Regions from separate parts of the Homo sapiens genome. Here regions 2, 3, 4, 5 and 6 are each linked to region 1. Evidence: promoter capture Hi-C in 16 types of primary human blood cells and fetal thymus (Javierre and others, 2016). All regions are on one chromosome and are shown on one strand. Each heading gives the region's core, a stretch centred on a gene start or on the middle of the fragment in contact. The rest is flanking DNA. Distances are from core to core; before and after follow the strand shown.

The links. Contacts are between HindIII fragments. The CHiCAGO score rates a contact against its expected background, and 5 or more counts as called.
Region 2: a fragment that was not itself captured here is called in contact with the fragment with the promoter of SST in region 1 in 1 of 17 cell types (fetal thymus); the score reaches 5.7 in fetal thymus.
Region 3: a fragment that was not itself captured here is called in contact with the fragment with the promoter of SST in region 1 in 4 of 17 cell types (total B cells, endothelial precursors, monocytes and 1 more); the score reaches 7.4 in total B cells.
Region 4: a fragment that was not itself captured here is called in contact with the fragment with the promoter of SST in region 1 in 2 of 17 cell types (total B cells and neutrophils); the score reaches 5.8 in total B cells.
Region 5: a fragment that was not itself captured here is called in contact with the fragment with the promoter of SST in region 1 in 1 of 17 cell types (total B cells); the score reaches 6.9 in total B cells.
Region 6: a fragment that was not itself captured here is called in contact with the fragment with the promoter of SST in region 1 in 1 of 17 cell types (total B cells); the score reaches 5.0 in total B cells.

The regions. Positions count from the first base shown.
Region 1 is chr3:187,667,272-187,671,756 of GRCh38, reverse strand. SST (somatostatin) reads left to right here and starts at 1,363. Exons shown (of 2, transcript NM_001048.4): 1 at 1,363-1,603; 2 at 2,480-2,845. The coding sequence starts at 1,466. The coding sequence ends at 2,692. The HindIII fragment of the contact is 4,322 bases long and covers 1-2,900 here.
Region 2 is chr3:189,101,858-189,106,457 of GRCh38, reverse strand. It overlaps a transcript of TPRG1 not described here. Among named protein-coding and RNA genes, the nearest start is that of TPRG1, 68 kb to the left of the region's middle. The HindIII fragment of the contact is 1,962 bases long and covers 1,771-3,732 here.
Region 3 is chr3:189,040,555-189,045,435 of GRCh38, reverse strand. It overlaps a transcript of TPRG1 not described here. Among named protein-coding and RNA genes, the nearest start is that of TPRG1-AS1, 95 kb to the right of the region's middle. The HindIII fragment of the contact is 751 bases long and covers 3,068-3,818 here.
Region 4 is chr3:188,953,704-188,958,213 of GRCh38, reverse strand. No RefSeq gene overlaps it. Among named protein-coding and RNA genes, the nearest start is that of TPRG1-AS1, 8.3 kb to the right of the region's middle. RefSeq lists silencers at 720-1,014, 3,380-3,674 and an enhancer at 530-1,064. The HindIII fragment of the contact is 3,306 bases long and covers 996-4,301 here.
Region 5 is chr3:189,013,458-189,017,990 of GRCh38, reverse strand. It overlaps a transcript of TPRG1 not described here. Among named protein-coding and RNA genes, the nearest start is that of TPRG1-AS1, 68 kb to the right of the region's middle. The HindIII fragment of the contact is 910 bases long and covers 2,815-3,724 here.
Region 6 is chr3:188,975,920-188,980,436 of GRCh38, reverse strand. No RefSeq gene overlaps it. Among named protein-coding and RNA genes, the nearest start is that of TPRG1-AS1, 31 kb to the right of the region's middle. The HindIII fragment of the contact is 1,661 bases long and covers 1,141-2,801 here.

The sequences.
Region 1 (4,485 bases), core at 114-2,613:
TGAGAATATTTTAATACCTAATATGAGCTTCGCATGGTTTCCAGAGATGCAGCATATCTTTTTAGCTAATATTGGCTTTTTTGAAGCTCATAAGATAACAGCTCTTAAAGATCCTGTAGGGATCATCTCGTCCATGCTAGGAAATTAGCTGGTCCTTCCTCAGTAAGGAACTATTTAGATAAAAGCAGTCAGAACTCTGGCCTGAACAGTAAACATTTAACCAGAGTTCAATCAGAATTCAAGGACAGGTTTTCTTAAACTTTCTTTGTTTCTAGGAGATCAGGCAGAGCTGAATTTAACCAAGAATCTTTTGATCCTTTCCACATATAGATATACAATAGTGGTCACATATGTTCTGGGAGTTCCTAGACCTTATATGTCTAAACTGGGGCTTCCTGACATAAAACTATGCTTACCGGCCAGGAATCTGTTAGAAAACTCAGAGCTCAGTAGAAGGAACACTGGCTTTGGAATGTGGAGGTCTGGTTTTGCTCAAAGTGTGCAGTATGTGAAGGAGAACAATTTACTGACCATTACTCTGCCTTACTGATTCAAATTCTGAGGTTTATTGAATAATTTCTTAGATTGCCTTCCAGCTCTAAATTTCTCAGCACCAAAATGAAGTCCATTTCAATCTCTCTCTCTCTCTTTCCCTCCCGTACATATACACACACTCATACATATATATGGTCACAATAGAAAGGCAGGTAGATCAGAAGTCTCAGTTGCTGAGAAAGAGGGAGGGAGGGTGAGCCAGAGGTACCTTCTCCCCCATTGTAGAGAAAAGTGAAGTTCTTTTAGAGCCCCGTTACATCTTCAAGGCTTTTTATGAGATAATGGAGGAAATAAAGAGGGCTCAGTCCTTCTACTGTCCATATTTCATTCTCAAATCTGTTATTAGAGGAATGATTCTGATCTCCACCTACCATACACATGCCCTGTTGCTTGTTGGGCCTTCCTAAAATGTTAGAGTATGATGACAGATGGAGTTGTCTGGGTACATTTGTGTGCATTTAAGGGTGATAGTGTATTTGCTCTTTAAGAGCTGAGTGTTTGAGCCTCTGTTTGTGTGTAATTGAGTGTGCATGTGTGGGAGTGAAATTGTGGAATGTGTATGCTCATAGCACTGAGTGAAAATAAAAGATTGTATAAATCGTGGGGCATGTGGAATTGTGTGTGCCTGTGCGTGTGCAGTATTTTTTTTTTTTTAAGTAAGCCACTTTAGATCTTGTCACCTCCCCTGTCTTCTGTGATTGATTTTGCGAGGCTAATGGTGCGTAAAAGGGCTGGTGAGATCTGGGGGCGCCTCCTAGCCTGACGTCAGAGAGAGAGTTTAAAACAGAGGGAGACGGTTGAGAGCACACAAGCCGCTTTAGGAGCGAGGTTCGGAGCCATCGCTGCTGCCTGCTGATCCGCGCCTAGAGTTTGACCAGCCACTCTCCAGCTCGGCTTTCGCGGCGCCGAGATGCTGTCCTGCCGCCTCCAGTGCGCGCTGGCTGCGCTGTCCATCGTCCTGGCCCTGGGCTGTGTCACCGGCGCTCCCTCGGACCCCAGACTCCGTCAGTTTCTGCAGAAGTCCCTGGCTGCTGCCGCGGGGAAGCAGGTAAGGAGACTCCCTCGACGTCTCCCGGATTCTCCAGCCCTCCCTAAGCCTTGCTCCTGCCCCATTGGTTTGGACGTAAGGGATGCTCAGTCCTTCTAAAGAGTTTTGGTGCTTTTCTGGGTCCCTCAGCTCCCGAAGCTCTTGAGAAAACTATCAAAGGCTAGAATCCCCTTCTAACTCTTTTTTTCCCCCATGATAAGCGCAGTCGGTCACAGTTCAGGTGAGTTCTTACTTGGCATTCAAGAAAATTACAAAATCTGGGTAGTTGTCTGGGCACGAAGCGACAATGGCGTCTATCCCTGGTGCTGACCCTGGGAAGCGCTGACCCAGGTGCTGAAACGCAGACCTCTGAAGCTGCTACCTCTTAGCGTACCTCACTTCCAAACGTCGGGACTAGGGCAAAGGGGCAATCTAAAGACCGAACGCCGTATGTTTGAGATTGTGAGAAGTCTCGTTCCCCTACAGTTTACTTGGTAAAAATGGTAAAACAATTCTACTTTGTAGCTCGTGATGTGAAAATTGAATTAAACTGTTGGCACACACTTTATCTTACCAGAACGGTCTTTATGTGTGTGTGTGTGTGTGTGTGTGTGTTTGTGCGTGTGTGTGTGTGTGTGTGTGTGTTAAGTCTACAGGGACAGAAAGGTTGCAGAAACATTTGAGCTCTTAAAGCCTTTTTGTGTAACTTGGTAATTATAGCAACTATCCTTATTTTTATATCCTTGATTGATTTTAAATGTGACAAAAAATGCGCAGCTGTAAAAACTGGATTTTGTGTGTGACCAAATCTGTTCTTTAATTTAGGCTTTTCAAATTTTTTCCATTGTCCTCCCCACTTCTCTTTCTCTCTTTTTCTATCCCTTCTGCCCTATACAGGAACTGGCCAAGTACTTCTTGGCAGAGCTGCTGTCTGAACCCAACCAGACGGAGAATGATGCCCTGGAACCTGAAGATCTGTCCCAGGCTGCTGAGCAGGATGAAATGAGGCTTGAGCTGCAGAGATCTGCTAACTCAAACCCGGCTATGGCACCCCGAGAACGCAAAGCTGGCTGCAAGAATTTCTTCTGGAAGACTTTCACATCCTGTTAGCTTTCTTAACTAGTATTGTCCATATCAGACCTCTGATCCCTCGCCCCCACACCCCATCTCTCTTCCCTAATCCTCCAAGTCTTCAGCGAGACCCTTGCATTAGAAACTGAAAACTGTAAATACAAAATAAAATTATGGTGAAATTATGAAAAATGTGAATTTGGTTTCTATTGAGTAAATCTTTTTGTTCAATAATACATAATAAGCTTGAGTGGCGGTTTCAGTAAAGTTATTTGAGATAGGTACTCCAATGTTCACAAACATCTATTTAAAATTCTCGGTGGCAATAAAGTTTACATTTTAAATGATAACTATTATAACATGAGTCATTTTAAACAGAAATAATTTCACATAACTCTATGCATTCAAACTTTAATTCAATGATAATTACTGGGAGAGGCTGACATAAACATTAATTACATATTAAGTACACCTAAATTATATGTTGGACTATTGAAATGAGTGTGTGTGAATAGTTAGGCTGAAAAATCCAACTATCTACCAGGTTGATATGTAAAATACATAACATATGAAAAGATGGAAGGAACAAAGTCATTTGGTGGTTGAGAAAAAATCTGACTTAAATAGCTAAAATGAGGTTCTGAATTTGTTTCTAGTTTGTAAACATTTATCTAGAGAAATACCATTGCTTTTGTGTCTTCTTTGACAATCCTCTCTAATTGAACAGTGCTAAATGACTGTTTTAAAAGCAAGCTTTTAAGATATTTTTTCTCAGGGAGAAATATCACTTTTATTATAAGATTCCTTCTGGAAGTACTATAGGTTGCAAGAAATGCATATTGGCTTACCTCACTGAGTGCTATCTATATTGCAGGTATTGGAGCTCAAAATCATAATTATGAAATAGCTGAAGGAGATATCTCAAGTCTTCTCTTAATTCTATCAATATGGGAGTCAAATAAAAACACAAAAATTATTCTTAAACACTCAGTAAAGGTGATAGTCTTATAACAACATGCTAAATGGGATCACTCAAGACAGAATGTAAACATTGCTAATTTAACTTCCTGAGACCTAAAGAGATATCCTTTGGGGGATGTGTGTTTTAGCTATCAACTGCATTTCTGCATAGCTACTGGAATAAAAACCAAACATAAATATGTATGCTCAATATAAATCCTTGTAGTATAAACTAACTGATAGTATCATATAAACATTTAAGAGGAGCTTAATATTTTATAGAAAATATTTGTGTTAGATAATACACATTTGAATGTGGTTGGCTTAGAGGAAGTTAATTTCTAACAGCTGATCAAACAAAAGAAAAAAAGCCAAGCCACTTTACTAATCTCTGTGAAAACAGAACATCCTTTGATGTTCTGGTATACCTTTTATTTGCAAGACATTTAGGTGTGGGGATTAATGCATGTCCACTTATGGGATCTGTCTGTGCCAAAGGCCTTATGTACACTGGCTACCAAAAAATTCAGTGGAGTAACAGCATCATATTATAATTACAGCACAGATGAGAACACAACTTAATGATTTTCTGGGCTGTGTATGAGTGTCAGGGGATTTCGAGTTTTTAGTACCATCTTTGTTGTCAGTTCTCAATGGTAGTATGAAAATAATTGGCTTGGGAAGCTAAGGTGGGTGCATCACGAGGTCAAGAGATCGAGACCATCCTGGCTAACAGGGTGAAACCCCGTCTCTACTAAAAAAAATACAAAAAAATTAGCCTGGCGTGGTGGCGGGTGCCTGTAGTCCCAGCTACTGGGGAGGCTGAGGCAGGAGAATGGTATGAACCCGGGAGGCGGAGCTTGCAGTGAGCA
Region 2 (4,600 bases), core at 1,502-4,001, 1.4 Mb before region 1:
TTAAAGGCAGGTTACAAAATTATGATGGGTGACCCAATTTAGATTAGGACTGGGGTCGGGGGCAACAAGATAATTAAGAAAAAGCTTTTCAGAGATTTGAAGTATGAAAAGTTGGCAGACCAAAATTTGGAGGGTTGGGGTTGCAGACAATATTCCCAGGGTGGGGGAAGGGGGAAAGCACATTCAAAGGCTTTGAAGTAACTGGACATCTTCAAGGTACTAGAAGGCCAGAATGACTGTTACTGTTTTTCATTTATGTGGTCATCATAATGATCTCATACTGCTTTTAAGAATAAACCAAAACAATTGTGAATATCGACACACTAGTTTTTTTGTTTTGTTTTGTTTTGTTTCTGGTAGAACAGTGTCTTTGTTTTTCAGTGTTTTTGTTGTTGTTGTTGTTGAATTTTCAGTTCCTAGGTACATGTGCAGGATGTGCAGGTTTGTTACATAGGTAAACATGTATCATGGTGGTTTGCTGCACCTGTCAACCCATCGCCTAGGTATTAACCCCAGCATGCATTAGCTATTTTTCCTGATACTTTCCCTCCCCAAACCCAACATGCCCCAGTGGACACACTAGGTTTTACTTAGGCTGAATTTCCTGTCTTCAAAAAATGTTTCCAATTTAGAAAGTCTCTATATCCAAAGTAAGCTTCTAATCTCTATATACTTAGTAATTATTATGTCGGAAGGACATTTTTGACACCCTCTATTCCGTAGGCTTCAAAGAAAATCAGCTTGCTAAATTTAAGAATTTAAAACAGTAAAACTGGTAGACCAGAATATATCCTGAGAAAAAGCAAAGTAGACTCAAAACCAGCAGTTGAAGTTCCCAAGGTTGTTGGGGATAGAAAAGGGAAAATGAGGGAGATGCTATCTTGACCCCACATACCTACCACATACCTACTCAAACTCATATGTAGAAGAGGAACTTAGATTCTCTCTAATGGATATGAGAGAGGCTCATTATGGTAAGTTAGCAGGGGGGCAAAGTGTGCCTCAATGCATGAAAAAGAGCTAATAGTGGGAGATGTCTAATATGGTAGGGTGGAGAAATGGATATTCCTCTGGAAGTCAATTCAGAAGCCATAAATTTCAGTACAGATTACATTCCATCTGAGGGCCATATAGAGAAGATTCAGGTGCTTTTCAGGACCAACATCATGAGTAAGCTTTAGAGTTTCTTCTAGCACTGAGACATACCATTGAAAAAAGCCTCCTTAACGAAAGATTTAGGACACTATTCTCAGTAAAATCAAGTCTCATCTCCCCAAATTATCGATCAATTAGAAATTCTGATCAGGAGTGGGATGTCCTTAATAACACCAACATCAGAGAGTTGTAGAGAGCTTTGTAAACTATAAACGGTTTCTACAAACCACTGAGCCATGAAAAGAAATTTTATTGGAAATCTTTAGCATTTCTCAGTATGAGTTTAGAAGAAAGAGTTTGGTTAGGGAATTAGAGTAGAAGGACCCAGGTACCTGGCTTGTGCCAAAGTGTTCTGTATCAGGTCTTGGAAAAACTTGAATTATGATTTTTCAAAGCTGATGGGGATGGGTCAGTAAAATTATGGAGCCAGAGGAGACCCTGAAGGTTGAGGAGTTATGCAGATGAAGGTAACAGGGCAGAGGAAGGCATTTTAAATATGAGACAAAGAGCAATACTGTCCAAAGGAAGGAGGCACATCCAAGAAAATGCACACATTAATAGTTCAGGTGGGTATATGTTGTGTGAGCTAGTCTGGTTAACAGGGAAGCTAAAGCTTAACTCGTGAAACAGTAGACATTGATCTAGTAGACCGAGGGTTCTTAATCTCCAGTTTCTGTTCGTCTTCTGAACAAGTAAATATAGTCTCTTATAGGTACAAATCGGGGCTTTCTTCTGACACCCTACAGTTTCCCTTAGGGAATGCGCCAACTCAGACTGAGCCAAGTGAGAGTCCTGGGCTAATATTTATGTTGACTTAAGTCTGATTAGAAGACAAGATGGGACATAGAGTTTGATTAAAATTTTATTGGATAATCATGCTGATTGAATTTTAAAAGATAATCTGCTGTAATAAATTCTCCCTTAATTTCCCTTTGCAATTCCAACCCAGATGAGTGCTAGGATATTTAGGTTGCATTTACTGAATATCTACGCCTGTCAAGCACTGTGGTTAGTGCTCTATCGTCAGTACAAGCCTGTGAGGTAGATGCTATTCTCATCTCACAGAAGAGGCTCAAAGAGGTTAATTTCTTTCTTTATTTATTGAGTCAACATACATCAGTTAAGCACCTCCTAAGTGCTACTGTTGGGGGGCATCTACCAGGAGCTACCATGGGGACACCTACTGCCTTGTCTATGTAGCTCTCCCTTATTCTGGGAACAGTACCTCTTTCGTTCTTGGCTCATCCTCTATCTTTAGTCTATCCATAAGTATCACTAACATTTCTGTTTTCTCACCTAACCCCTCTTCCTTGACCACATCAATGGTAAACTGACTTAGTATTTTGGAATATGGGACTAAGACAAAGTCAGGATAAAGGCTCATCAATGACTGAAAACTATAAAATGAAAAACTCAGGAACTGTGATGGGCCGTGATTTTTGCCAGCTAGAGGAAGTCCACGGTGAAAGGGAAAGATGAAGCTGACATGATGAGAAACAGCAGAGACACAAGACAGAGGCTGGATCCTGATAACAATCATTACTCCACATCATTGCTGTGTCTTTTCAAGAACTGGGTGTTCACCTCTTTCTTAGACCCCCTGATTATATCCCAGTATCCTTCAAAAAATTCTTTTGGTGTGAGCTTGGCTTTTGGGGGTTGTTTTCTGGCTTATTTTTACTTCTAATAGTCTGTCACCATGTTAGGCATGTAAGCCAAAAGATTAAAAAACATACAGTCTCTGTCTCATGATATATAAGAAATATTTCATAAGGACACATGGAATGATTGTCCGTGGTGTAGGGAAGGAACATGATCCCCTAGGGTATGTATCTGAATCATCCAACTCTAGTTTTCCCTTGACACTCCTCCTCTGCAAGATCTTGATCCACTTTCTCCCTCAGGGTCTGGCATCTCTGGCTAAGAATTTTGTAATAGTGATGCACAGTAATAGATGAAAGGGGACTGCAAACATTTTCTGCAAAAGGTCAAATAGTAAATATTTTAGCTTTGGGGGATACATAGACTCTGTTACAACAATTAAACTCTGCTCTTTTTATCCAAAATCAGCCATAGAGCACACTGAATGGGCATGCTTCTGTTCCAATAAAACTTTATTTACAAAAACAAGTGGCAGGATGACTTTGGTCACTGGGCTGCTGTTTGCCACCCTGGCTCTAGGTATTTGGAGGCAAAGTAAAGTTGAGAATCATGATGTGGAGAGTTAATTGATTGGCAGAAATAGGTACCAGGTGCTCTGGAATTACAGACGAAGCACCAAAATAAACCACAGGCATCAAGAAAAATATATTTCTGCAAAAGATGACACCTGAGCTGAGACAAGTTTAAGAGGAAGTTAGCCAGAGCAAGGAGAGATGAACAGAAAAATCAGCATTTACAAGTGCAATGAGCTTTGGTAGACCCTGGCGTTTGAGGACCTACCAGAAGTTCCCCATGATTGGGCAAAATAAGTGTTAGGAAAAATGGCAAGAAATATTAACATGATGAAGCACAAAAGCAAGATAAAGTTTTAAAAAAATTAATAAACAAAGAAATTTGAACTTTATCCTAAAAGCTTTGGGGAACCATGGAAGAATTTAAAACAAACAGAATGAACATCGTCTGATTCCTTCTTTTTTAAAAAAATTAATTATCTCTTAAAGCTATAAAAAGTAGGAACAGGGAGGGATTCCAGGTAGGAAAACATGGCAATTATTCAGACGTGAAGGGATGAGGGCCTGAATTTAGGCAATAGAGTCAATTTACATACTAGAACTGATGGAACACAACTTAGAGACAGGTAACATGTAGGGCTGAGAAAGAAGAAGAAAACTATTCACAAGGAAATTGGATGGATAAGAGGGAAAAGCCACCAATATTGGAACATGTGAGGCATGGTGAATGCAGCTTGGTACATGTTGTGTGTGAGATGCCTGTGGGCCATTTGAGTGGAAATGTAGATGGTGAATAAGAAGCTGGCTCTGGAGATAGATAAAAAGTCAGCTTTTTATATACATTTGCTTACTACATACAGCCCTAGGAGGTAGAAACTATCATTACTCTCATTTCACAGATGAGGAAACTGAGGCCAAAGAAAGGCCAGGGGAATGTTTTCTACAATAACACTAAAATTACAGAATTGGGTGTTAACTGAATATAGGAGCACATGAGCAGGACATTTGGAAAAAGTGTGTGGAATGAAAAGGATGACCAAGGTTGAAACCCCCAACACAAAGACTTTTAAGAGATAGAGAGAGGAGAGACATGGTAGTAATATCCTCTCTAGAGCCAGAATATTTGAGCTCAAATCCCAACTCAGTACCTCTATTTGTTAGTTTTCTCATCTGCAAAAAAATTAAAATAAAACAATAGCAGCACCTAACTCATAGGGTTGTATATAGCAACTAAAAAGATGTACGTAAAAATCTGATCATGCAGCACACCA
Region 3 (4,881 bases), core at 2,194-4,693, 1.4 Mb before region 1:
TGTCCACAAAATGTATAAATCCTGATCTTATTATTTAGAAATATATAATTTGAGACTTGACGTTCTTTTCCATGATTGTTGAATAGCAATTAAAGAAGTCATTCACTTGTATAGATGAAGTAGAAGATTGGACCTGGACTTTGATGAGTACACTGCAATTTTTGCAATAGAGTGTTACTCAGTTAGCAATTAGCCTGTCATCATTTCGGGACAGTCCTTTGGTGTTCTTAAAACTGAAATATCATGATTGCCATTCCAGATGTTTATCTTAGTGTAATGTTTTTAAAAATATATATGAGCATTGATTAAAAATAGACCTTAACCCATGAAGGGCACAGTTAAATAAACTCTCTAGAGGTACAGCTCAGCTTATGCTGGACACATTAGATCTTCTGGGGTAGCAGTTTTATTTGGTGATTTTCCAAGAATATTAATGAATACTCTGATGGCTGAAAGAGTTCATTTTCTTCACCCAGGATAAGCATTACACTGTCAAAAAACAAACCACACTTCGACATAAAATCTAATGTTATGGCCCTTTCATACTATACTCTTGTATGTTTAAATGAATTAATTCTAATCCTTTGATCTGATCATATCATTCCCTTTCTCTAAAACATTCAGTGGCCATCCATTTTATATAAAAGTCCAAAAATTCTGTCATTCAAGTTTCTCCTCAAGAAGACCACCAACTACCTTTTTCAAACTTCTTCCCTGCCTCATGCAACTTAGGCCATTGCTCTTTGCTGTACATCATAGTTCCCCTTTGCCCTTGCTTATGCTCTTCTTAACCTTCGTATCCTCTTTCTATTCTTTGCCATCCTTACATATTAAATACAGAACTGTCCTTCAAAGCTCAGCTCACTTTTTTTTTTTTTTTGAGACGGAGTTTTGCTCTTATCACCCAGGCTGGAGTGCAATGGCGTGATCTCAGCTCACTGCAACCTCCACCTCCCAGGTTCAAGTGATTCTCCTGCCTCAGCCTCCAGAGTAGCTGGGATTACAGGCGCCTGCCACCACGCCCAGCCAACTTTTGTATTTTTAGTAGAGACAGCGTTTTGCCATGTTGGCCAGGTTGGTCTCAAAGTCCTGACCTCAGGTGATCCACCCACCTCGGCTTCCCAAAATCCTGGGATTACAGGTGTGAGCCACCGTACCCGGCCACATTTTTTTTTCTTTGTCATGATGTTGCATCTAACCTCTCCAGCTCCAGAGTCCCTGTGATACTTAGCTTGTCTCTTTCCGACAATTTGCCTTGTATTTATTTATTTACTTGCAGGTCTTTTCTCTCTCTCTCTCTACTATTCTTTGAGGAGATGAACTAATTTGAGAGAGTAATTTTTATATATTCATTTATTTATCAAGCATTTGCTGAATATCTACCTTGTACCTACTATTGTAGCAGACACAGACACCAGCAAAACATTGATACTGGATCATTAGATGGAAAAATAAGAAATGAAAAAAATGAAGTTATTTGTCTTAGTCTCACTACTGGGTATTGCTCAAATGCTGTAGATGGCACTCGTTATTCATAGACCTCATCGTCTCGAGAGACCCAGCTCTCTTCTCTGGGAATAAAAGTCACTTTTCTTAATGACATCCTTGTGGAAACTTTTGGCTCCAATAAGCTTTGGATCACAACCCAACTACTAGTTTTAAACAGTGATTCAACCACTAGCCCCAAGCAGAAATGCCAATGTCACCGTGCCCTCCTTCAATTCAAGAGTGGGTGTCATAGAATTCCAGTGCCATCGCAGTGCCTAAATTGAGGTGGTGTCAATATATACAAGCCAGTCTCTGAAGGGAGTTGTCGCCCAAAAAATTGTAATGGAGTTAAGCAGACGATTGGCTTTTATGACAGTCTGCTTCTTAGTAAGTCAACAAATTGTTCTTCCATCAGGGGTGAAAATATGAAAAATAAAGAGAACACTTAATGTCACAGAAGGTCAGATCCCATAAAGGGCCTGCATGATATGCAGTCCAACCTTGTCATTTGTGTGAATGGAAAAACTGAGGGCTAAGAAAGAAACATCTTGCACGAGGTCACAGAGAAAGTCAGTGGAAGTGTTGAAAGCATCTCCACAATCTGACACTCCTCATTCCAAGCCTCAGGGTCTTTGCAATACCCTTTAAACCGTACTCTTTAATCTGTATCCCCATCATGTTGTTTCCCCAAAGAAAGAATTTTATGTTTATTAAAACTCAGGCACCATGAGGCCCTATGTTCAAGCCAATATTTTGTGGTTTAGATTCATCTTTCGGTTTGGATTCAATCTATATATAGTTTTCCTTCTATTTTTTGAACAGGGCCCATTTAATTGTGACCTTGTGAAACAAGGTGAAAGTAGAAAGGCCTTATAGTTAGCAGATCCCATAGTGTTCTCCTTTGCTTTACAAAATATTTGGAGAATAAACAATGGGTGAACAGTGTGGTCATTGTCTCTGGTTACAAACGGTGACAGGCACCGGGCTTACTCTAGCTTGTTTCAGCTGTCTCCTTTATGGAGGTCTTTGGGTTGAGACCAGGGTTTCCTTGACAGCTCTTCTGGTGAGCCACCACGCAACCTCCTGCTTGTAGCTCTTCCTTCCTATGGACCTCAGTTTCCTCATCCATAAAATAAGGTTCCTCCCAGCCTTAGCAGATTACATGTTGTTATATGATGATTTATCTCAATGCCTAAAGAAACTATTTAGCTTTCCATTGTGTAGCATACTTTTCTTCAAGCATGATTGAGTTCATTTTCATGAGGGATCATCAAGTATGCCTCAAGCAGCTGAGATACAATATAAAGAAGCAGTGAGAAGACCTGGGTTGGTGAGCCAACTCTGACCCCTGCTAGCCCAGAGATCCACACAACCTCTCCAGGACTCTATTTGTTCATCTGAAGATACAACGTCTTCCTCCTTCCTCTTCATTCAAAAAGTATTTCTTGAAAATCCATAATTAACCAGGATTGGCATGAGATTTTTGAAACATAACAGATACCTAAGTAACCTATAAATTATTAAACATCTTATAGATAGAAAATGTTATCAATATTTTACTCACCTCTGACATAAAGCTTATTATACACCTAGCAGATCAGGATGACCCAAAGAGGGATAAAACACAAGGTAAGATACTAGAAAAATAAAATTAACCAAAAAAGCTGAAATTGGAAAAGAAATATATTCTTGATAGTTCAAAAAAGGACGTTAAGGTTGTCATTATAGCTAAAAGTTTATCTTTCTTTGACTTTTTAATACTTGTTTTATAATTTCAGATTTTTTTTTAATTTCTAAAATTGAGGATATTTTCATTGTTCAATGTTTAGGGCTTCTTAAGGACCTAACCTTAAGAAGATAGGTCAATTCCCATCAACATGTGTTTACAGAGCTCCCCAATGATTCAGAAACAAGCTGCTAACATTGGCATTAACAATACAGAAGCATCCTAAGGCTGGAGGTAGGGAAGTTGATTTTCATATCAGAATCCAAATTATTGGGTGAGGCTCAAGCAATGGCCTGAGATGGTATTTTGAGAGCAAGAGAAGGCAGTGTCTAGTTGTATATTTTACGTTCAACATCCTAAGGAAATAAACAGTTCTGCAGCAACAGGGACAGCTCAGCATCTGAGTCTGAGGCCTTTGTGCATGGCAGTTTCAGAATCTGCTGGGGTTTTCCCCAACCCTTCGCCTCCACTTGAAAGCAGATCTAAGGGCAAGCTGGTCTCTCAAAAAGAAATCACATTCTCTCCTGCCACCAGAGGGCCCCATCACCAGGTAACATGGCAGAAAATTGCTGGCATCTGAGTAAAGGGCTAAGACTAGGAAGCTTGTTCCACCTCCCCACATGGGGTGAGAAGGGAAGCCATGAGTGCCTTGCCCATGCCCCATGTGCAGTTTTGCTTTGCTCCCTAATTAGAAACAATAATATCTCCCACACATTGAGTGCTTACTTAATCACAATAGTCCTGTGAAGTACGTGCTAAAGAGGCTCAGAGTTGTTAAATAATCTGCCCAAAGCATACAGCCAGAAAGGGAAGAGCCAGGATTTGAATCCGAGACTCTCTGATTTCAAAGTTCAGATTCTTAGTTGCAATACTATATTTTTCCTGTTACTTGAATAACTCAAGCAGCTTTTAGTTTATCATTTGGGACCTAGAGGTGAGTTTAAGGAATGCAATGACCATGCTACATGAGAATCCAGCTTATGAAATGATCCTCTTTCTAGGGGGAGGTGGGCTCCTTCCAACTTAGCAAGAAGGAAGCAAAGAATTGGGAGCAATAAGGAAAGAGGAAGTAGAGGAGCCTAGCGACATCCTAAAATGGCTGTGGCTCAGGGGTTCCCTGATTCTGTTTCCTTTCACCAAATCTAGAGCTGTGATGTTATCCAGGCTAAAGTGCAAAGGCACCCTGGTTCAAGATGCAGGTGCTCTCAGCCTAAAATGGAAACAGTCAGGGAAAGACCAGAAGACTGTGGAGGGGCGACCAGGGCTGAACAGGCTTGAGGAGCCTCTTGGGAAGTAAGTCAATCTAAGGAATAGCTGCCAAAGCCCAGGCAGAGATGCCTGAAAAGTGCCTCTGAGCAATAGAGGAAGAATGACACTGAGGACCACCCTTTGACTCATCTCGTGGCTCAGTCCCTAGGGACTTGTGCCCAAATCATGGGGAAAGAAAACAACCTGGATGGAATGTTTTACCCATCGTTTCTTTAAGACTTTGAGAGTAAGGGATCATACCACTGTGGGACCAGTGTAACAGACAATGGTACAAGGTTGGGAGAAAGGGGTTTTTTCCATTGCAGAAGATATGAGCAGAAGTAGCACCAGTATCAGGGGGCAAGAACAGCAGTACTCTTAATGGTGGACAGAATGGCATTGTGCTCCCACTGAGAGAT
Region 4 (4,510 bases), core at 1,399-3,898, 1.3 Mb before region 1:
AGGAATTGTTGAAAGACCAAATCCTCAGGAGATTAGCACTCAGGAGATATTAAGTAAACCAGTTTTCCTGGATCTCACTCTGATATCTGAATCTTAATACTAAAGAAATACTTTCACCTATTACAGTTCAGTGTCAGCTAATCAGAAATTTTGGCTAAAGCTAGGAATCATATAAATACATATATTTTAACTTAAGACTTTCACTTGCCAGTAGGTAGAGCCAAGGCCTCTCTTTAAGTGCACATTTTCCATTTGTGAAGCTCCATCTCATTTTTCTTGAATAAATCACTCCCATCATGCATCCTCTATTAGTTGAAGTTTCAGGTATTTTTGTTTTTGTTTTCTTTTCTTTTGTTCTTTGTAGCAGATAAAAACCTTAGAAACTTGCACAATTATTCTGGATTTTAATCTTTGTGTTATTCTTCTACAGTTATCTCATCCACAAACTAATTTTAGATCATTTTTTCAGCAATTCTTCCCTCTTGAGCCTTTCCAAAGCAATCAATTTAATTTTTATGGACACAGTCTCTTTATTTTTATACTTATATTTCATCTATTTGCATAATATTTAAATTATATAATTGCATTTACTAATAAAAGTAGCATAAACGGGTTTGAGGAAAAAATCAGCTGGTTCTTTGTATGCATCAGATTTGATTAATGGGAGAAGACAGACATCAGGAAACTAGAAAGCAGCCTACCACCCATGAGCACTTAGCATGCTATGAGCATCTGTCAGAATGTACAAAGGGAATGGAGAACTTAGGTTGGTTACCTGAGAGAGAGTTACATCTACTGAACAATTAAGTGCTCCTCATCACGAAAGAAAAGGAAAGAATGCGGACTGAATCCTGTGCCCTGAAAGTCGAATCAGCATATACCTGCTGTTTCTATGTCACCAAGAGGCTGATTCCAGGTGGGAGACTCTGGAAGATGAAGCGATTGGATCTTGAACCCAGAGCACCAGCAAAAGGTCCTGAGTTCCATAACAAGCTTTACTCCAGAGTCGCTGGTGTTGGGGAAATATTTGTAGTCATTTGGTCTAAGTTCCCTTGTTTTAGAATTAGACAATTTGACTCTCACATTTCTAAGGTTCGTTTTTAATTCCAAAACAAAGTCTGGTTGTTATCATTCTTTTTGGCCTTTTTCCCTTAGGTCCAATGCAGAGACGATGACCACTAGGGGTCAGACTTTTTACATTACTCCTCTTGAAAGAAGGAACCCAAGTCTTGGATTTTTTAACTGGGGAAAAACTAGAGAGGTCGTCTATCCTGGTAAGTAATGCTTCATTTAAACTCATTCAACATGTGTGACTATTATATTCTTAAAGATTTCTAAGAAATAGAGGTTTCATGATGCTCCCTTCCAAGGAAGTTTTTGATATCTAACCTAGATCCTTCAAATGTAATTTCAATCTATTTCTTATTTGTGATGTCTCAGTGGAAACTATTAATCATTGACTATTATCCTCTGAGTAAGAAATGTATTTATCTGAGCATGTATCAGTTCATGTCTCATTTCTCTAGCTGTCAAATAGGGGTCTAGGACTAGAATCACTTTTTCAATTAATAGTTCAATAAATAAGCAAGAAAAATAAGGTTCCAACTTAAATAACTCAAAATCAAACTGCCAGTCAATGGCTGGGCCAGGATTAAAATTGGGTTTTACATAACTCCAAAGTCCACATTGTTCTCACTAAGAACACTTCTTGCTGTCTCTTACTTAGTGCTCCTGCTGGCCTCTGGCTACTTGGGAGAACCATCGGCCTTTTCATTTAAAAAAAAAAAAAAAGTGAAAGTGGGGGATGAAGAAAGAGGGTCCCCTCAAGCTGTAATGAAGCAGTCACTTCCTTGGTCATCTAGACCACTGCGGTGATGGGCTGAAGTTAGCTCAAGAAGCCATCGGCATCTCTCAGTGCAGGTTTTGACATGAAATGGCAACATTCAGGCTTTGTAGAAGAAGCTGAAGGCAGTAAACTCCAAGCCAGAGTAAAAATCAAGTGTGTTCTGATGTGTTGGATCAAAACTTGGGAACCTCATGTGCTCTATCCTACCCCTGATAACAGCTGCAAATGTTTGTTTTTTTTTCTCTAGCATCTGGCCGGCCCATGTGTAAACAGAATGAAGAGTCAGCATGGGGAAAGAATCTGAATGCCCCGTTTCTCAGCCTCTTAAGGATACAGTGAAATGGGACAGGGTCTGAGTTAGGAAACTCTTTGAAATTACACGGAGATTCAGGCAGCAGCTCCCAATGGCACTATAGAATCTCTCACCTATAAGTCCCTTTTTATGCAAGAAAGACAGTTAAACAAAGGTAGTGTTGGGTAGTGGTAAGAACAGTGGATTGAGAATTGGATGACTCAAATTCCAAATGAGGCTCCTATAATAACTGACCGTGAGCCTTTGGGAAGACTATTCTTTCTGGGTCTCATTTCACCATCTGAGTTATAAGATGGCGGAGTCTTCTCTAAGGTTTCATCCAGCTTTACTTTTCAACTTTTTGGCATAATTCTAGCTGTAAAACAGGGGTCTAGGACTAGAATCTACCATATTGCTATGTTTATTCAATAGGTATATTCCTAGCTACTGTTTCTTCCTTTGACTAAATGACACTTTAAAGGTTATATCAACTCCCCCAAATCTTTTATGTCGCTTTACCTTGTCTCAATCCTAAACAACAAGTTAGGACTAACATCAGTGCTAAAGATAGAATTCAACCTATCAATTATTGTTTCTGTTCAAAAGCTAATTATTTAATCAGGGTCTTCCACTTGTTCAAAATTATAAGCAGATTAAGTGCTGAGCATGATTTTTAATGTGAAACATATGACTTTGGTATTCAAATGTACTTTTAAAGTTTTCAATATCTTTTCAATTTCTAAAAAGTAGATCAGAGTAAAATTTTTTTAAAGTAAAGATACTATTAGCTTTGATAAATGAAGTACAAACTAAATAACATATTATGAATTTGTAAATTCATATACAAATATACCTTGAAAGCTAAGTAAAGAATGTTGACTTAATTTAGCAGGCAATGAATGGAAGAAGGTTTCTAACTGAAGGAGTAATTACAATCTGAGACTAGAAACTGAGTTATTCCAAGAAATTACTCTTTGTAACCCAGCAATTAAACCTCTCAAAGAAGGCAGAATTCTTAGTTTTATGCCCATTTCACTGGATTACATTTCCCCTCTTTAAATTCTATTTTTTCACCACATCGTGATCCTCTTAAGAAAAGTTGTCAAAGAAATGGAAATAGAAGGAATGAGAAATAAAAGTCAAGAAGACATTGTAGACTTGATCTGTCTTATTTGGAGCTTGTATTTAAACAGAGGTACTTTTCATCCTTTCAGAGTTCCAGTTGGCCCCACTTCCAAGATGGCTGAGGATGTTGGCTCCTGCTCCATTCCAGCAGAGGGCGCTCTTGGAGCAGGATTGGGGATGGCAGTGGGAAACTGGGAGGACAATCTGAGCCTCATTCACCAGCCACTTAAGTTTGGTGTGAATCTGAGTCCTTCTGGACTGACCTAAAAGACAGCTCATTGGTCCGTGCCTTACAGAATTCTATTCATAGTCTAGTTAAACTCTGATGAAGACCCCATTTTCCAGCTCTACCTTCTCTGCTTACTGTAGAGAAAAAAGTGACTAAATTATCCTCAAGAAATAGAAAATAAGTTAAGAAATGTGACATCTGGGCACGTGCACAGAGGAGCTACTGAGGACTGAGAAATCAGGAAAAGGTTAGCCAAAATAGGTGTGTGTGAGAGATGTCAAAACTGCTTAGCAAAATCGCCTGTCTACTTTCTACCTCGTCTTCCAGAAGGGAATTCATAAATTTTTTTAAAAAGTAGTAGCAATATCATGGGCAGAGCCCAAATAATGACACAAAATGAATCTTGTACAATTGGCCCTTTGTATCCATAGGTTCCACATCCATGAATTCAACCAAGTGTCGATGAAAAATATTTGGAAAAATAAATGGAAGGTTGCATTTGTACTGAACATGTAGAGATTTTCTTGTCATTCTTCCCTAAATAGTACAGTATAACAACGATTGACATAGCATTTACACTGTATTATTATGAGTAATCTAGCAATGATTTAAAGCATATAGGAGGATGTGCGTAGGTTATATGCAAATACTACACCATTTTATATGAGATACTTGAGCATCCCTGGATTTTGGTATCCTCAGAAGATTCTGGAACCAATCCCTCAAGGATACCAAAGGATGACTATACTAGGAATGAATAGCTGAAATCCATAAAGGTTTTTGAGCTCAAGAATGATGTGAGCAAAGCTTAGCAACTGGGTTGCCTAGCAAAAGATTTATCCATTGCAACCCAGGGACTGAGCTCCAACTTGTAGCAAAAAAAAAAAAAAAAAAAACAAAGAGCACCAAGGAGCAGTGGAGATCTGGGCTGTAGCCCTAGCTCCAAGACTTCTTGTCTCTGTGTCTTTGGCCAGGTTCCTTGGGTGCGTCTCTTCAAGCCTCAGTTTCTCTGTCCATC
Region 5 (4,533 bases), core at 2,020-4,519, 1.3 Mb before region 1:
CTCACCATCACTGGCCATCAGAGAAATGCAAATCAAAACCACAATGAGATACCATCTCACACCAGTTAGAATGGCGATCATTAAAAAGTCAGGAAACAACAGGTGCCAGAGAGGATGTGGAGAAATAGGAACACTTTTACACTGTTGGTGGGACTGTAAACTAGTTCATCCCTTGTGGAAGTCAGTGTGGCGATTCCTCAGGGATCTAGAACTAGAAATACCATTTGACCCAGCCATCCCATTACTGGGTATATACCCAAATGACTATAAATCATGCTGCTATAAAGAGACATGCACACGTATGTTTATAGCGGCACTATTCACAATAGCAAAGACTTGGAACCAACCCAAATGTCCAACAATGATAGACTGGATTAAGAAAATGTGGCACATATACACCATGGAATACTATGCAGCCATAAAAAATGATGAGTTCATGTCCTTTGTAGGCACATGGATGAAACTGGAAATCATCATTCTCAGTAAACTATCACAAGAACAAAAAACCAAACACCGCATATTCTCACTCATAGGTGGGAATTGAACAATGAGATCACATGGACACAGGAAGGGGAACATCACACTCTGGGGACTGTTGTGAGGTGGGGGGAGCAGGTAGGGATAGCACTGGGAGATATACCTAATGCTAGATGACGAGTTAGTGGGGGCAGTGCACCAGCATGGCACATGTATACATATGTAACTAACCTGCACAATGTGCACATGTACCCTAAAACTTAAAGTATAATAATATAAAAAAATATATATTTTAATAAAAAAAAAAAGAATCTCAGAGCTCAAAGACTGTCTTTCTGAAATAAGACAGGCAGACAAGATTAGAAAAAAAAAATGAAAAGGCATGAACAAAATGTCCAAGAAATATGGGATTATGAAAAGATACCAAATCTACAACTGATTGGGGTACCTGAAAGAGACAGTGAGAATGGAACCAATTTAGAAAACATATTTCAGGATATCATCCAGGAGCACTTCCCCAACCCAGTTAGACAGGCCAACATTCAAATTCAGGAAATGCAGAGAACCCAGTATATTAATTCGTTTTCACACTGCTATAGAGAACTACCAGAGACTGAGTAATTTATGAAGAAAAGAGGTTTAATTGACTCACAGTTCTGTAGGCTTAATAGAAAGCATGACTGGGGGGCCTCAGGAAACTTACTATCATGGCAGAAGGTGAAGGGGAAGCAAGGGACATCTTCCCATGGCAGAGCAGGAGAAAGAGAGCATGAAGGGGGAAGTGCCACACACTTTCATAAAACCAGATCTCATGAGAACTCACTCACTATTACAAGAATAGCAAGATAGGAGTCCACCCCCATAATTCAATTACCTCCCACCTGGTCCCTCACCAAACACATGAGGATTAAAATTTGAAATGAGATTTGGGTGGGGTCACAGAGCACAATCATATCACTCCATCCCAGCCCCTCCCGAATCTCATGTCCTTCTCACATTTCAAAACCAGTCATGCCTTTCCAACAGTCCCCCAATGTCTTAACTGATTCCAACATTAACTCAAAAGTCCACAATCCAAAGTCTTATCTGAGACAAAGTATGTCCCTTCTGTTTATGAGCCTATAAAATCAAAAAGAGGCTCATATACAGAAGGGACATACTTAGTTACTTCCAAAATACAATGGCAGCACAATTATTGGGTAAATACTCCCATTCCAAATGGAAGGAATTGGCCAAAATAAAGGTGCTACAGGCCCCAAGCAATTCTGAAACCCAGCAGGGCAGTCTTTAAATCTTAAAGTTCCAAAATAATCTCCTTTGACTCCATGTCTCACATCAAGGCCACATTGATGCCAGGGATGGGTTCCCAAGGCCTTGGGCATCTCGACCCCTGTGGCTCTACAGGGTACAGGCCTCTTGGCTGCTTTCACAGGCTGTTATTGAGTGCCTGCAGCTTTTCCAGGTACACGGTGCAAGCTGTTATTGGATCTACCATTCTGGGGTCTGGAGGATGGTAGCCTTCTTCTCACAGCTCCACTAGGCAGTGTCTTAGTGGAGACTCTGTGTGGGGGCTCCAACTCCACATTTCCCCTCTGTACTGACTTTGTACAGGCTCTCCATGAGGGATCTGTGCCTACAGTAAACTTCTGCCTAGACATCCATTTGTTTCCATAAATCCTCTGAAATCTAAGTGGAGGTTCCCAAACCTCAACTCTTACCTTCTGTGTGCCTGCAGGCCCAACACCACATAGAAACCACCAAGGTCTGGGGGGCTTGCACCCTCTGAAGCAATGGCCCAAGCTGTATCCTGGCCCCTTTTAGCCACAGCTTAAGCAGGAGTAGCTGGGACACAGGGCACCATGTCTCAAGGCTGCAAAGAGCAGCAGGGCCCTGGGCCTGGCTTATGAAACCATTTTTTCCTCTTAAGCCTCCAGGACTGGGATGGGAGGGGCTGTCACGAAGGTCTGTGACATGCACTGGGGGCATTTTCCCCATTGTCTTGGCTATTAACATTTGGCTCCTCTTTACTTATGCAAATTTCTGCAAGCAGCTTTAATTTCTTCCAGAAAATGTTTTTTTCTTCTCTACCATATAGTTGGGCTGCAAATTTTCCAAACTTTGATGCTCTGTTTACCTTTTAAACATAAGTTTCAATTTCAGACCATCTCTTTGTGAATGCATATAACTGTACACAGTTACAAGCAGCCATGCCACATCTTGAATGTTTTACTGCTTAGAAATTTCTTCCACCAGATACACTAAATCATCTCTCCCAGGTTCAAAGTTCCACAGATCCCTAGAACAGGGGCACAATGCCACCAGTCTTTTCCTAAAGCTTAGCAAGAATAACATTTACTCCAGTTCCCAATAAGTTCTTCATCTCCACCTGAGAACACCTCGCCCTGGACTTTCTTGTCCATATCACTATTACCATTTTGGTCAAAATTATTCAAAAAAATCTCAAGGAAGTTCCAAACTTTCCTGCGTCATCTTATCTTCTTCTGACCCCTCCAAACTGTTCCAACCTCTACTTGCTAACCAGTTCCAAAGTTCTTTTTACATTTTCAAGTATCTTTATAACAGTGCCCCACTATCCTGGTACCAATTTTCTGTAGTATTCCATTTTCTCACTGCTATAAAGTACTACCTGAGACTGAGTAATTTATGAAGAAAAGGCATTTAGTTGACTCAGTTCTCCAGGCTTAACAGGAAGCATGACTGGGGCTCCTCAGGGAACCTACAATCATAGTGGAAGGCAAAGGGGAAACAAGGCACATCTTCCCCTGGTGGAGCAGGAGAAAGAGAAAGCAAAGGGGGAAGTGCCACACACTTTCAAATGACAATATCTTGTGAGAACTCCCTCACAATCATGAGAACAGCAAGGGAGAAGATTTCCCCCATGATTCAGTCACCTTGCACCAGGCCCCTCCCATGAAATGTGGGAATTCTAATTCAAAATGAGATTTAGGTGGGAACACAGAGCCAAACCATATCATACATTATAACAGTCCATGAGAAGATTACCCCAAGACACATCATCATCACATTCACCAAGGTCGAAATAAAAGAAAAAATGTTAAGGGCAGTGAGAGAGAAAGGCCAAGTCACCTACAGTGGGGGCCCAGTAGACTAACAGTAGGCCTTTCAGTGGAAACCCTACAAGCCAGAAGAGATAGGGGGCCAGTATTCAACTTTCTTAAAGGAAAAAAATATCAACCAAGAATTTCATATCCAGCCAAACTAAGCTTCATAAGTGAAGGAGAAATAAATAAGATCCTGTTCAGACAAGCAAATCCTGAGGCAATTCGTTACCACTAGACCTGCCTTACAACACCTTCTGAAAGAAACACTAAATATGGACAAGAAAAACTATTAGCAGCCATTACAAAAACACACTGAAGTACACAGACTAGTGACACTATGAAACAACCACATAAACAAGTCTGCAAAGTAACCAGCTAGCATCATGATGGCAGGATCAAATTCACACATAACAATACTAACCTTAAATGTAAGAAGACGACATGGGCCCCCAATGAAAAGACAGAGTGGCAAGCTGGATAAAGAACCAACACCCACTGCAATGCTATCTTCAAGAGATCCATTTCACAGGTAAGAACATCACAGGCTCAAAATTAAGGGATGGATGAAAAAATTAAAAAGCAGGGGTTGCAATCTTAGTTTCTGACAAAACAGGCTTTAAATCAACAAAAGTCAAAAAAAGACAAAGAAGGGCAATATATAAGGGTAGAGGGTTCATATATATGTAGCATAGAGCTAACTACCCTAAATATTTATGCACCAAATACAGGAGCACCCAGATTCATAAAGCAAGTTCTTAGAAAACTTCAAAGAGACCTCAAATCCCACACAATAATAGTGGGATACTTTAACACCCTACTGACAATATTAAACAAATCATCAAGACAGAAAATAACAGGGATTTTCAGGACCTGAACTCAGCTCTGGATCAGGTGGACCTGATAGATATCTACAGAACCCTTTGACCCAAAACAACAGAATATACATTCTTCTTATTGCCACATAGCACTTACT
Region 6 (4,517 bases), core at 722-3,221, 1.3 Mb before region 1:
ATATTAGTAGAGCAATCACAAGATTGAATTTCATCACATCAGAAAAGTGGAGAGAAATGGACAGAGGTACACTGTAAAAAGATTTCCTCCCTAGGTCTTGGCATATTAATTCTTTCACTCAAGAAATGTTTACTGAGCATCATTTATGTGCCTGTGCTTGGTGTCATTTCCATTGAAAGGGAATTTGAGTCTTGAATCTGAATTCAGTTCAAAATTGTTTATTGCGTATATGGAGACTAAATATTTTAGCAAGACTCATTTGGCTGATGAGTAAATCTAAACGAGTGAGGTAAATCCTGGCCTGTTGCCTCTGGCTCCAAAAGCAGCCAGACACTGTCCTTTCCACTTTCTGCTTCATGCCATGATAGAGAGGCCTCTTGTAATAGAAAAACCACTGGTCAGATGAGACAATACCTGAAGAAACAACATTAAATGGCAGGTTTGTTGGTAGCCACAGGGGGACTGCACAGCTGTGGGTCTCTGCTCCAGAGAGCAGCCCACCGGCACAGGCTGCCTGCCAGAGGGTAATTGCAGCTTGTAAAAGCATGCTGGCGCCACCAAGACACAGTCAACTGCCCCTCTCCCTTGAGCCTCATTGCTCCAGAGGTGGGAGAACAGGGAGAACAGCTGACACAATTGGTGGCAAGTTAAATTGTCTGTCCGAACCACGCAATTCATAATCAGAGGGAGGAGGGGCAAGTAAAATAAGCCTTCTTTTTTTTGTTTTTTGGTTGTTGTTTTTTTTAAATTTGTTTTTGTGATGAGTGCCAAGAAATCATTATTTTCCCTCCAGGTGCCCAATAACTGAAAAGCCACTTTTGCAGGCGCCAACGCTGCCATCTCGGTATTGTTGTTGCCCCACTGAAGAGTGGGTAGGGACTGGCAGTTAGACAGACTGTGTTTTAATTGGCCTCCTCCTGGAAGAGAAAGAGCCAAATGTTTGCAGGATGCTTACTCGAGCCAGTTTCAGAGTAATAAAAGTGCATCTTTGATACGCAGAGAGTTTATGCTCTTCATAAAAATGCTAATTTCAATCTTTGCTGAAAGGAGCGGCAAGAATGCTTTCCCCCTTAGGCTTTTTAATACGAATACAGTTGTACTATGTGGATGACCTTGTGCTTCTTAAAGAGGGGCAAAGCTTAAGTCCTGTCTACAGCCTTTCAAATCCCACTCTAAGGATTTTACCACTGTGAATATGAGAGTATTCAAACTCTTTTCATGGAAAACTGGAAAGCAATGTATTTGTTTCTTTAAAAAAAAATCTCTAATACAAATACACAGGGAGAGCTTACCATATTTTTTTCCTTCATTGAGTATGTTTTTCCAAGGTCAATTTAGAGGTTCTTCCTACTTGGCTGAGGAAAAACTGGAGCCCCAGTAACTGCGTTCACAGCCCTCTCGGTGGCTTGGAAACCTTCCCCACCTACAGATGCTACAAGAAGTTGCTGATGTTTTTCCAGGGCCCCAGTGTTTGCTTCTCTCGCTACAGAGAGGGAAGACAGGGTGATGAGTGAGGTTTTATTTGTCCTGTGGGATGACTCATTCGGTAAGAGTTTCTGACCCAGAATTCTAGTCTTTCTCTTCTCTGTTCATCCTTCCTCCCATCCTCTTAGATTTTTCAGTCCTTGGGCAGGTTTCCAGTCACCCTCTCCCATCATCCTCTCCCTCAATCTCAAAATACAACAAGATTTCCTTTAAAAAGTTAAACTTCCCACAATTGCATTCAATTTACTCTGGGAACTTGTTTAAAGGGCACGGGTTTTGAAACATGATCAACAAAATAATCAGTTCTTGATTACATTAAATAGTATCCTTACAGACTGCGCCAAGCCTTAAGAGGGAAAACAGCTACCTTCAATCTCTCTCACCATGAATGGGACTCTGTGTCTCAAAACTTTTTATTGAATATTTCCCGAAATGAAGTCTGTCTTTCCAATAGGAGAGTATGCAGTCTTTCTCAGAACTCAGACCCATCTTCAACCCAGCTGCAGCCAGGTGTGGCTCAGCAGCTTTCAGCAGCTCTCTGATGCTGCGCTGTGTCTCCCCAGCTGACACTCTGCATTCTCAGGAATGCTGGTCAGGTGAAACGGTCAGGTGAGAGGGCATTAAATATGAAGAAGTCAAAACACAGTAGACTAACTGAACAAAACACCACTAATCAAATTTCACTGAAGCCATGAAAATGCAAGTGATCGAATATCAAAATTTATTTTCATAATGCCTGATTTGTAATAACCCTATCATCTCTTCTAATCCACTGTAACATGTACAAATTGCAATTCTCTAAACCTCCTCTTCCCATCTGTAAATTGGATGAAGAAAAAAGGAAAGAAACACAGAACAATACTACCTCTTCTACTCTTTTTTAAGAAATTCCTAGGAAAAACAAGAATACTTCTTATGAAGATGCTGCTGCCCAACTTTATAATGCACTTCCCTTTTATTCCAGGTCACATAATAAATGGTCATACCAAAACTGTCTCTTCCGCATGTTTTAAATCTAACACAATCCAGTAATAACCAAGAAACCCAGTGAATAGACGCTCTTGTAGACTGTATCTTAAAGGAGACAGTTTCTACCCCCACGCCAGAGTGACAAAGGCCAGAGGGGTCAGTCAAATCAAACTGTGTGTTAGGGAAAACGGAGGCTTTAACTCAAAGACTTTCTACAAACACTAAGTTTATGTCAAGGTTAGTGTCACAGAACAGACTAATTGGTATCAGATGCTATCATGCTGTCCTGGAAGTATGAAGAGTGAACGGGTACCTAATGGATGGGATGAAAGGATGGAGAAAAAGCTTGTGAGCATGTTATGAAAGGCTTCAGTGAAGAGTGGAGATGTCTTCCTTGAAGTGTTGACATCTGCATTAATCAAGGTGTCTCTTCAATTAACTAAGTGACGAGTGGCTGGGTGCAGTGAGGTATAAAGAGAGTGCTGTGGGCAGAAGGAACCACATTAGCAAGAGCATGGAGACAATGAAGAGCATGGTGTGAAGGAGAACAAAAGAACATACGAATGATGAATGAATGAGTAAATAAATGCTGTGAAATAAATAGGTAACATTGAGGGGCACTGATGGCATTTGAGCAGAAAAGTGACATAGTCAGACAAATGAACATGGCAACATCATGCTGCAGGGCTCGGTAGTATCAGAAGACAGATAAGCCTGTGACTTCTCTTATTTTTCCTATATGGTCAAATTTAACAAGTTTTATCATAAATTTTTTGATGTGCATCTTCCCCCGTGAGAACAGGTTCAAATTCTCTTTTTGTCTTGTTCACTTCTATATTTCCAGCACCTGCTAGATATCTAGTATACAGGAACCATCCAATCAACACGTATGTTGAATGAATGAGCACATGGATGAATAAATGTATAGAGCTTAAGGAAGCCTAGGACAATGACAGCGAGGACAGAAACAGATGTACCAATGCAAGTCTTCATGCAGTATTAAAATCAACATCATTTGGCAACTGCTTTAGATTTGGGGATGCAGGGTTGGGGCAAAGGTGACAGATTTTGGGATTAAGCTTGTTTGGGTGGGGCTGGAAGGTAGCACTCACAAGAGCAAGAGTGGGACCAGGTTCAGAAGGAGTTGAGGTTGGCTTTGGTCCTGTCAGGTTTGGGTTGCGATGGCAATCTTGTTTAAAATGTCCAGAAAAACTGGGAATGCAGAAACTGGGGCTCAAACGAGAAGTTAAAGCTAAAAAGAGAGGTTTGACTGCTCCCTCTAAAGAAGTATCAGTTAAAGCTGTGGGCAAGGATGGACTTGTCCAAGAGGGAGGGCGGCGAAGAGAAAGCAAACAAAGATAGTGCCTCAGGGAGGAAGGCAAGATGAGCTGAAGTCTGAAGTTTGAGAACCAAGTCTTGATCTCCTGATCCAGTTATCTGATCTCTTATGCATTCAGCTGTCCCAGAAAACACCACAGATCCTTGTTCTGCCTAGGGAGATGAGTCCTTTAAATGCATGCTGCATTTTAGCCACTAACTACAATCACCAATTCTTGCATCAACCACTAACAGTGGCTCAGAGATTGCCACTTGAGGCTGCACATTGCAAACTTATTTTCCCCTCTGATGCTATTTAGTTTCTGATGGTGTTATTAAAATAAAAGGCTATTTTTTAATGAGCTGGGAGAGAATCCACTTAACCGAATTGTTCGTAAAAGGAATAAAACACGTCAAGACTCTGCTTAGCGCCAATCCACCAATATAGGATCCTGCCTTTGCAAGAACCTTCTTATGTAAATATTTACAAGGAGAGTAAAAAAAGAAAGCGGTTTGGGGAGCCACCAGATGGAATAATACAAGAACAAACTTGAACACAGTCAAAATGGGCTTCACCAACAACAGGCGTCCTCTTAGGAATCTACCATTGCCTGGGGGGGTGAGAAAGGAAGAACAGAGAGTTAAAAGGAAAAGCGGCTTCTGGCAAAGCTTCTCTTGGGACTTATTTCAGCTAATCTCTGAAAACTAGGTTTTCGTTTCTATTAAAATCTTCAAAAACAATTTAT